Linked DNA regions of Homo sapiens: region 2 is linked to region 1. Evidence: promoter capture Hi-C in human tissues and cell types (Jung and others, 2019). All regions are on one chromosome and are shown on one strand. Each heading gives the region's core, a stretch centred on a gene start or on the middle of the fragment in contact. The rest is flanking DNA. Distances are from core to core; before and after follow the strand shown. Region 1 holds the start of HSPA9 (heat shock protein family A (Hsp70) member 9). Region 2 overlaps SIL1 (SIL1 nucleotide exchange factor).

Evidence for each region. Contacts are between HindIII fragments. The study calls those that stand out against the background at their distance.
Region 2: a contact is called between a fragment that was not itself captured here and the fragment with the promoter of HSPA9 in region 1, in 1 of the 25 tissues and cell types used here (IMR-90 fibroblasts).

What each region holds. Positions count from the first base shown.
Region 1 is chr5:138,573,207-138,577,748 of GRCh38, forward strand. HSPA9 (heat shock protein family A (Hsp70) member 9) reads right to left here and starts at 2,195. Exons shown (of 17, transcript NM_004134.7): 1 at 2,032-2,195; 2 at 862-920; 3 at 557-644. The coding sequence starts at 2,112. All of the region lies in intron 1 of LOC105379193 (a long non-coding RNA gene), which reads left to right. RefSeq lists enhancers at 1,776-2,423, 1,940-1,989, 2,230-2,509, 2,424-3,072, 2,650-2,789. The HindIII fragment of the contact is 16,836 bases long and covers 1-4,542 here.
Region 2 is chr5:139,164,887-139,169,428 of GRCh38, forward strand. All of the region lies in intron 1 of SIL1 (SIL1 nucleotide exchange factor), which reads right to left. Among named protein-coding and RNA genes, the nearest start is that of SIL1, 31 kb to the right of the region's middle. The HindIII fragment of the contact is 8,384 bases long and covers 1-4,542 here.

The sequences.
Region 1 (4,542 bases), core at 945-3,444:
TTAGTAGAGACGGGGTTTCACCATTTTGGCCGGGCTGGTCTTGAACTTGGGACCTCAGGTAATCCACCCCCCTTGGCCTCCCAAAGTGCTGGGACTGCAGGCGTGAGCCATTATGCCCGGTCAGCCCTGATCTATAGTTATGTTTTTGCTGTTTTAGTTGGAAGTACTTCGAGGCCAGGCTTAGTGGTTCACATCTGTAATCCCAGCACTTTGGAGGCCAACGTGGGCGGATCACTTGAGCTCAAGACCAGCCTGGCCAACACAGTGGAACTGTCTCTACTGAAAATACAAAAAATTAGCCAGGAATGGTGGTTCATGCCTGTAATCCCAGCTATGTGGCCAAGGCAGGAGAACTGTTTGAACCCAGGAGGCAGAGGTTGCAGTGAGCGGAGACCGTGCCACTGCACTCCACCATGGGCTATAGAGACTGTCTCCAAAAAAAAAAAAAAAAAAAAAAAAAAAGCGCAAATCAGGTTCTCAAATTCCTTAACTAAGGAAAAGAGCACAGAATTCTGGACAGATTCTGGATAAGGTACTAGTTATCAATCATGCTCACCTTTGCTTGTTTACCTTCCATAACTGCCACGCAGGAGTTGGTAGTACCCAAATCAATACCAACAACTGCTCCCTTGATTGCTTCTGATCTGTAAGACATTTAGAACAGTGTCACAGCTATTGTTATCTTGATAGACCAAAGTCACTGGAAGATAATATTTAATTGGAAAATTAACAGTGGTATACTACATAATCTCTAAATAAATACAGATAAATAATTACAGAGAAGAATAATCACAAATGTAGAAAACACTGCTTTGAAGTTTAATATGTATTCCCTCTCAAAGGAAATGATATTATACTTACGCATAATCCCGCCTTGAAACAAGTCTAAAAGCCTCATGACTAAGGCCATTCCAGCTATCCTAAAAAAGAAAAAACTGACTCAGTCACCAACCAGTGTGTATCCTGGGAGGAAAAAGAGAAAACTTGGGCTCACTTAGTATATAAAATACATTAAGCTACTAAAACAGTAAATATTAAAGTTTCCCAAATAAGTAAGACGAAAAAAGGTAAATAAAAGATGGCCTTAGAATCACATTACAGTAGGATTTCTCAACCGTGGCGCTATTAATTTTGGGCGAAATTTTTGTGGTGGGGGCTGTTCTGTGCATTGTAGGATATACAGCAGCATCCCTGGCCTCGACACCCTAGAAACCAATAAGCACCCCAGTAAGTAAGTGACAACCTAAAATATCCACAGACATTGCCAGATGTCCCCTGGGGGAAAACACTTCCCCTTACCTTGCCGTGCAATTAGTTTAAAAGAACTAGAGTTACTAAGGGTCTTTGAAAGAAAAAAGAAAAGTAGTGGCGTTTCACTAGGATAAAAGACCTTTATTACAACTTAACCTCAGGCTCCTTCCAAGCCTTCCTTAATGCCCACATACAATTCCTGTTCTCTAAAGCATTTGTCTTTTATTTTAGAAAACAAGTAACCACTCCATAGCCTTTTCTCCGCCCCACGATCTGCTTTTTTTTCTGAAGTAACAAACGAGTACAATCTTACACCACAGATTTTGAGAAAATGTTGCTAAGCACGAAAACTGGAGTTCCGACTCAGAGCTTTCTTATTTTATTTCACCGTATCAACGGGATCCTTACACACTCTGTATTCTGTAGAGGAGCCAAAAATAAAACTGAAAATAGTGGCTTTCCCAATAGACTGCATCCCTCACCCCCAAGGCCAAACCTTTCCATTCAGCCACAGAACAGGCCATGAGGACCACTACCTGGTAATTTTGAAATGACACTCTAGATCGCGAGGGGTGTGACTCAGCAGGGCCCAAGCCGGAGGCAAAACCTTGGGCAAAATCTTGACCCGGCAGCGCTAACTATGGAAGGCCCGTTACCTTCCTTCCCGCCTGACCTATACTGGAGAATTCAAACCCTAAAGGGCGCGCGGCCTGCCGCAGCGAAGCCCGAGGCCCAAGGCCCGAGGCCGTGACCCCATTCGGGAAGGTCCCAGTTCCTCACCTGGTGGCGGGCGGCCGTAGGGCCCCGGGAGGCTGCGGCGCCCACGAGACGGGCTGCTGCAGCTCGGCTGGCACTTATCATGGCGGATAAATGGAGGAGTACGAGGCAGCAAACAAGCGCTCCGACGGCAAAGAGCTGCGCGATGCGGTGGCGGCAGCGCTTCTGGAAACCTCCAACCACGTGGGGTGAGGGGCGGGGGTTGGTCACTGCGGCCCAGAGGCCCGCTCTTCCGCTGAGGCGCCGCCCGCGCCGCCTGACCAGAGGATACTCGACTGCCGCTCCCGGAGCCAGGGCGTACAGGTAATATGCTCCGCAGCATGATGGTTGGAGAAAGCCTGCCCTCCTGTCCCGGCTGCGGCGGCTCTGAGCTCAGAAAGAGTCCAGGGGAGGAAGAGGGATATGAAGGCCGTATCTCGGACAGCCCCGGTCCTCGGCGACAGGAAAGACTCAAGGTCACACGGGATAAATTGCGAACCGATTACAGTCTTCTTGCGTCAGTTGCGCGGGAGGAGGAGCCTGTTGGCGCAACAGACATCCAGCTAAGAACCTAGAGCGCATGTGCGCAAGGAGTGGCGGAAAACATGGGTGGAGACTAACTGCGGCGCTCACTGGGTGCCCGAGTGCACGCCAGCGTTCCCTGGGGCGAGCCCGGGCGCGTGCACACCCCCCGGGCGTGGACGTGTTCCCAGCTCCCGCTCCTGGAGGACGGCGCCATCTTGTCTTGTGGCTTTGTGAAGTGAGGACGTCAGTACTTTTGTTGTTTGGTCCCGCCCGTTGTTCACAACTTGAAAGACACTTGGATATGCAGACAGACGTTAAACAATTTCGTGTTGCGTTTTATCACAGGGGTCTTGGGTTTCCAACTACGAAGCGTTTGATTCACACAGAACATTAGGCCAATTAGCCTGCACAAAGGGAAAAAAAAATAGCTGAGCTTGGCCGGGCGCTCACGCCTGTAATCCCAGCACTTTTGGGAGGCCGAAGCGAGCGGATCGCGAGGTTAGGAGATCGAGACCATCCTGGCTAACACGGTGAAACCCCGTCTCTACTGAAAATACGAAAAAGTAGCCGGGCGTGGTGGCAGGCGCTTGTAGTCCCAGCTACTCGGGAGGCTGAGGCAGGAGAACGGCGTGAACCCGGGAGGCGGAGCTTGCAGTGGGCCGAGATCGCGCCACTGCACTCCAGCCTGGGCGACAGAGCGAGACTCCGTCTCAAGAAAAAAAAGAAAAATAGCTGAGCTTCAGGCTCTTCCTCTCCCCACTGTGCTGGGCCTGACTTGAGACTCCTCTGGCCCTTTTTAAACCTTGTGCTGGTGGCAGGATGTCAACTACTTCACTACCCTGTGACCAGTTTTTAGGTTTTTGTTTTTTTTTTTGAGGCAGTCTTTGTCGCCAGGCTTGAGTGCAGTGGCGCCATCTCGGCTCACTGCAACCTCTGACTCCCTGGTTCAAGCTATTCTCCTGCCTCAGCCTCCCAAGTAGATGGGATTACAGGCGCGCGCCACCACGCCCAGCTAATTTTTATATTTTTGGTAGACACCGGGTTTCACCATGTTGGCCAGGATGGTCTCGATCTCCTGACCTCGTGATCTGCCTGCCTCGGCCTCCCAAAGTGCTGGGATTACAGGCGTGAGCCACCGCGCCCAACCCAGTTTTAGATTTTTAAGAAGAGGAATTAATTGATTCAACAGATATGTTTTGGCATGCCTACCGTGTGTCAGTCACTCTCCCAGGTGGTAGGAATACAGCGAAAGCAAAACACGAACGAATGGCTGATGACAGATTGAACTTGATTTTGGAGATGAAGCAATTTGTCCTGGAAGCCCGCTTTCAAAAAAAGAGAAATGTTTCAGACCCCCTATCTCTTCAGGAAGATCTGTATTATTAAGTAGTCACCCCTGGGTGAGGAACTGTGAAGGAAATGTTGGGGAAAGTTGGGGAGGGAAAGAAGCTAACTGAAGAGTTTACATTCTGAGGAGGATGGCAGTGGGAGTAAGAAAATAAACAAAAGTCTAACGTAACATGGGTTATAGATTATATAGATTCTAAAAGTTTTTAAAAAGCCTCCCACACACTCTTAACTGTCAGCTATTACTATATTATCCTCACTAGTTACTTAACACTTCATTTCTCTTGTTTTTAGTTCTCTCAGAAGGCAGGGGTGGCCAGGCGGTGGCTCACGCCTGTAATCCCAGCACTTTGGGAGGCCGAGGTGGGAGGATCACTTGAACCCAGGAGTTCGAGATCAGCCTGAGCGACAGAGTGAGACTCCATCTTTAGCCTCTGTCGCCCAGGCTGCAGTGTAGTGGTGCAGTCTCAGCTTACTGCAGCCTCCACCTCTCTGGGCTCAGATGATTCCAGTGCCGCCTCAGCGCCCCCCTCCCCCGAGTAGCTGGGATTACAGACATGCGGCACTACGCCTGGCTAATTTTTGTATTTTTCGTAGAGACGGGGTTTCGCCTTGTTGCCCAGGCTGGTCTCCAACTCCTGAACTCAAGGGATCCGCCCGCCT
Region 2 (4,542 bases), core at 1,433-3,932, 590 kb after region 1:
AGACTTACTTTCCAATCTGACTCTGGCATAACAAGGAAGAAAATAAAAATATTTTACCCCAAAACATGTTTCTCTGCCATATCTTGAATGGCCCTGCAAAGTGATCCCTTGTGGGAAAAATCCACATATTCTATAGAGAATCCCCTACCCCCTTGTTTTCCTTTCTTCCTTCCTTCCTTTCCAGATCCAGGAGATAATCAACTAAGAGTCACGCATTCTTTTAGGTCCGATAAGAAACATTTTACAACCTGCTCTCTCTGAAGTGTGCTACCTGAGAGCTTCCTCTGCACAATAAAACTTGGTCTCCACAATCCTTTATGTTAACCTAAACATTTCCTTTCTATTGATCCCAGATCTTCAGATAAACTCAACCGTCAGCCAGAAAATGTTTAAATTTACCTATAGCCTGGAAGCCCCCACTTTGAGTTGTCCCACCTTTCTGAACCAAACCAATGTATTTCTTGTTTGTTTGTTTTTTTGAGATGGAGTTTCATTCTTGTTGCCCAAGCTGGAGCACAAATGTGTGATCTCGGCTCACTGCAACCTCCACCTCCCAGGTTCAAGCAATTCTCATGCCTCAGCCTCCCGACTAGCTGGGATTACAGGCACATGCCACCACACCTGGCTAATTTTTTGTATTTTTAGTAGAAACAGGGTTTCACCATGTTAGCCAGGCTGGTCTTGAACTCCTGACCTCAGGTGATCCGCCCACCTTAGCCTCCCAAATTGCTGGGATTACAGGCCAAACCAATGTCTGTCTTTTTTATTATTTTTATTATTATTATTTTTTGAGACGGGGTCTCACCCTGTCACCAGGCTGGAATACAGTGACACGATCTCGGTTTACTGCAACCTCCGCTTCCTGTGTTCAAGTGATTCTCCTGCCTCAGACTCCTGAGTAGCTGGGGCTACAGGTACATGCCCACCATGCCCGGCTAATTTTTTTTTATTATTTTTTAGTAGAGATGGAGTTTCACCGTGTTAGCCAGGATGGTCTCGATCTCCTGACCTCAAGATCCGCCCACCTAGGCCTCCCAAAGTGCTGGGATTACAGGCCTGAGCCACCACGCCTGGCCTGTATTTCTTAAATGTATTTGATTGATGTCTTGTGCCTCCCTGAAATATATAAAACCAAGCTGTACCCCGAACACCTTGGGCACATGTTCTCAGGACCTCCTGAGGGCTATGTCATGGGCCATGGTCACTCAGGTTTGGCTCAGAATAAGTCTCTAAAAAATATTTTACAGAGTCTAACTCTTCGTCAACAGCACAGAAATCTGTCTCCCTAACTAGACAACAACTGCACTGACAGAATTTGTCTGATATAAATCAGAGTCATGTGCTGCACATTTCAGTCAACAACAGACCACTTATACGACAGTGGTCTCATAAGATGACAATGGAGCTGAAACATTCCTATCACCTAGTATTTACCATTAAATACTTCTTATTGCTATTTTAGAGGGTACTCATTCTACTTATTTTTTAAGAGGGGCCAGGCATAGTGGCTCATGCCTGCAATCCCAGAGCTTTAGAAGGTCAAGACAGGAGGATCCCTTGAGGCCACAAGTTCAAGATCAGCCTGAGCAATATAGCAAGATCCTGTCCTTACAAAAAATACAAAAATAGGCGTGGTGATGAGTACCTGTAGTCCCAGCTACTTGGAAGGCTGAGGCAGGAGGACTGCTTGAGCCAAGGAATTTGGGGTTGCAGTGGGCTATCATCATGCCATTGCATTACAGCCTGGGCAAGGAGTGACTTTTTTTCTTTTTCCTGAGACAGGATCTCATTCCCATAGCCCAGGCTGGAGTGCGGTGGCATGATAGCAGCTCACTGGAGCCTCAACTTTCCAGGCTCAGGTGATTTTCCCACCTCATCCTCCTAAGTAACGGGCACTACAGGCACACACCAGCACACCTGGCAATGTTTTTGTTTTTTTTGAGACAGAGTCTCACTCTGTCGCCCAGGCTGGAGTGCAGTGGCACAATCTCAGCTCACTGCAAGCTCTGCCTCCCAAGTGCATACCATTCTCCTGCCTCAGCCTCCCAAGTAGCTGGGAATACAGGCACCCACCACCACGCCCGGCTAATTATTTTTTTGTATTTTTAGTAGAGACGGGGTTTCACCGTGTTAGCCAGGATGGTCTCGATCTCCTGACCTTGTGATCCACCCGCCTCAGCCTCCCAAAGTGCTGAGATTACAGGCGTGAGCCACCGCGCCCAGCCTTTGTCTTGTATTTTTAGTAGAGACTACTAACACGGTTTCGCCATGTTGCCCAGGCTGATCCTGAACTCCTGGGCTCAAGTAACCCCCACCCCCCGCCTCAGCCTCCCAAAGTGCTGAAATTACAGGCGTGAGCCACAGTACCCAGCCAAGGAGTGGCTTTAAAAGAAAAACAAAGTTAACTGTAAACCAGCCTCAAGCAGGTCTTTCCAGAAGGCACTATTATCACAGGAAATGACAGTTCCAAGTGTGTGATTGCCCCTGAAGACCTTCCAGTGGGACTAAATGTGAAGATAGAAGACAGTGATGTTAATGATCCTGACCCTGTGTAGACCTAGGCTAATGTATTTTTGTCTTTATTTTTAACAAAAAAAGTTTAAAAAGTAAAATTAAAAACTGCTAATAGAAAAATGCTTACAGAATAATGTATAAATATTTTTGTGCCGTTGTACAATATGCATTTGTTTAAGCTGTTATTATGAGTCAACAGTTTTAAATTTTAAAGTATATAAAGTAAAAATATTACAGTAAGCTACAGCTACATTTATTATTGAAGAAAAAATTTTTTATAAATGTAGCGTAGCCTAAGTGTACAGTGTTTATAAAGTCTACAGTAGTATACAGTAACATCCTAGGCTTTCATATTCACTGACCACTTACTCACTGACTCACCTAGAGCAACTTCCAGTCCTGCAAGCTCCATTCATGTTAAGTGCACTGTACAGGGGTACTACTTTTTATTTTTTCTCTTTTAATAGGTTGGGGTCTCCTTCTGTTGCCCAGGCTGATCTTGAACTCCTGGGCTCAAGCAATCCTCCTACCTCAGCCTCCCAAGTAGCTGGGACTCCAGGCATGTGACACCCGTGTGCAGCTACCATTTTTTATCTTTTATACTACATTTTTACTGTACCTTTTCTATGTTTAGAAATGTTTAGGTACATAAATGCTTACCATTGTGTTACAATTGTCTATAATATTGAGTACAGTAGCAAGCTGTACAGGTTTTAGCCTAGGAGCAAGAGGCTATACAATAAAGCTTAGATGTGTGGTAGGCTATACCATCTAGGTTTATGTAAGTACACTTTATGAGGTTTGCACAAGGACAAAAATCACTTAACACATTTTTCAGAACTATCCCTGTTGTTAAGTGAAGTATGGCTGTATTTTGGAACTCTGGAAACAACTGAAGCCTTGCAACTTCCAGGGAAAGGCCTTGATGGCAAATTGCAGTTAATGTCTATCAATTTCAACTCTTAGCAGAGTAGCAGCTACGTTTCCCCCAACTTCACGGCAGGTAGTTGTGTATGTGTTCCTGGAGCAGCTTGCACACAGCTTGCACAAAAAGAACACTGTCTTCCAAATACTGGGGATCTGTGCTGATTCTGATTGCTGCTTCTGATTACAGAGGTGCAGACAAAGTAGTAGCAGAGATTGTTGTTGCTCCTCCCAGCCCGGTTGCAAGCCCCTTTCCCTCAGGCTGAAGTGACTTCCTGGAGATTTAAAGGGCCAATGCTTTTTTTTTTCCTCCCCTGATCATTTATCTTTTTCACCTTTTGGGAGTCAGACATTAAAGAACATTCAAGCAAGGCGCAGTGACTGACACCTGTAATCCCAGTATAGGAGGCCAAAACAGGCAGATCGCTTGAACCCAGGAGTTTAAGACCATCCTGGGCAACATGGCAAAACCCCATCTCTACAAAAAATTAAGTGGGCCTGACGGCACGTGTCTGTAGTCCCAGTTACTCTGGAGGCTGAGGTGGGAGAATCACCTGAGCCCAGGAAGTTAAGGCTGTAGTGACTTGTGATCACACCACTTCACTCCAGCCTGGGCAATGAAGACCCTGTCTCAAAAAAAAAAAAAAAAACTGAATTTTTAAAGGCAACTACATAAGCCTGTCCAGTCATGCATGCTTGTAGTCCCAGCTACTCAAAAGGCTGGGATGGGAGGATTGCATGAGCCCAGGAGTTGGATGGTATAGTGCATTATAATCATGTCTATGAATAGTCCCAGTACTCCTGATTGGACAACATAGCAAGATCCTGCCTCTAAACAAAAATGTTTTTAAGGCATCTACATGTGTAAGGAAAATCAGAAAGTCACTGCACATGCCCAGGGGAAAGTGCAGGCTCAAAAGAGACCTGAGAAGACCTTAAGTTTACACCTGAGGCTGATCCTCAGCACACAAAGCCTATGACAATAAAAACAAAAACGAAAACCACAAACACTGGGAAAGGCAAAAGATCTGCTTTCCAGGGTTACCACATTATTATATTCAAATGTCCAGTTTTGAACCCAAAACACAAGGCATACAATGAAAC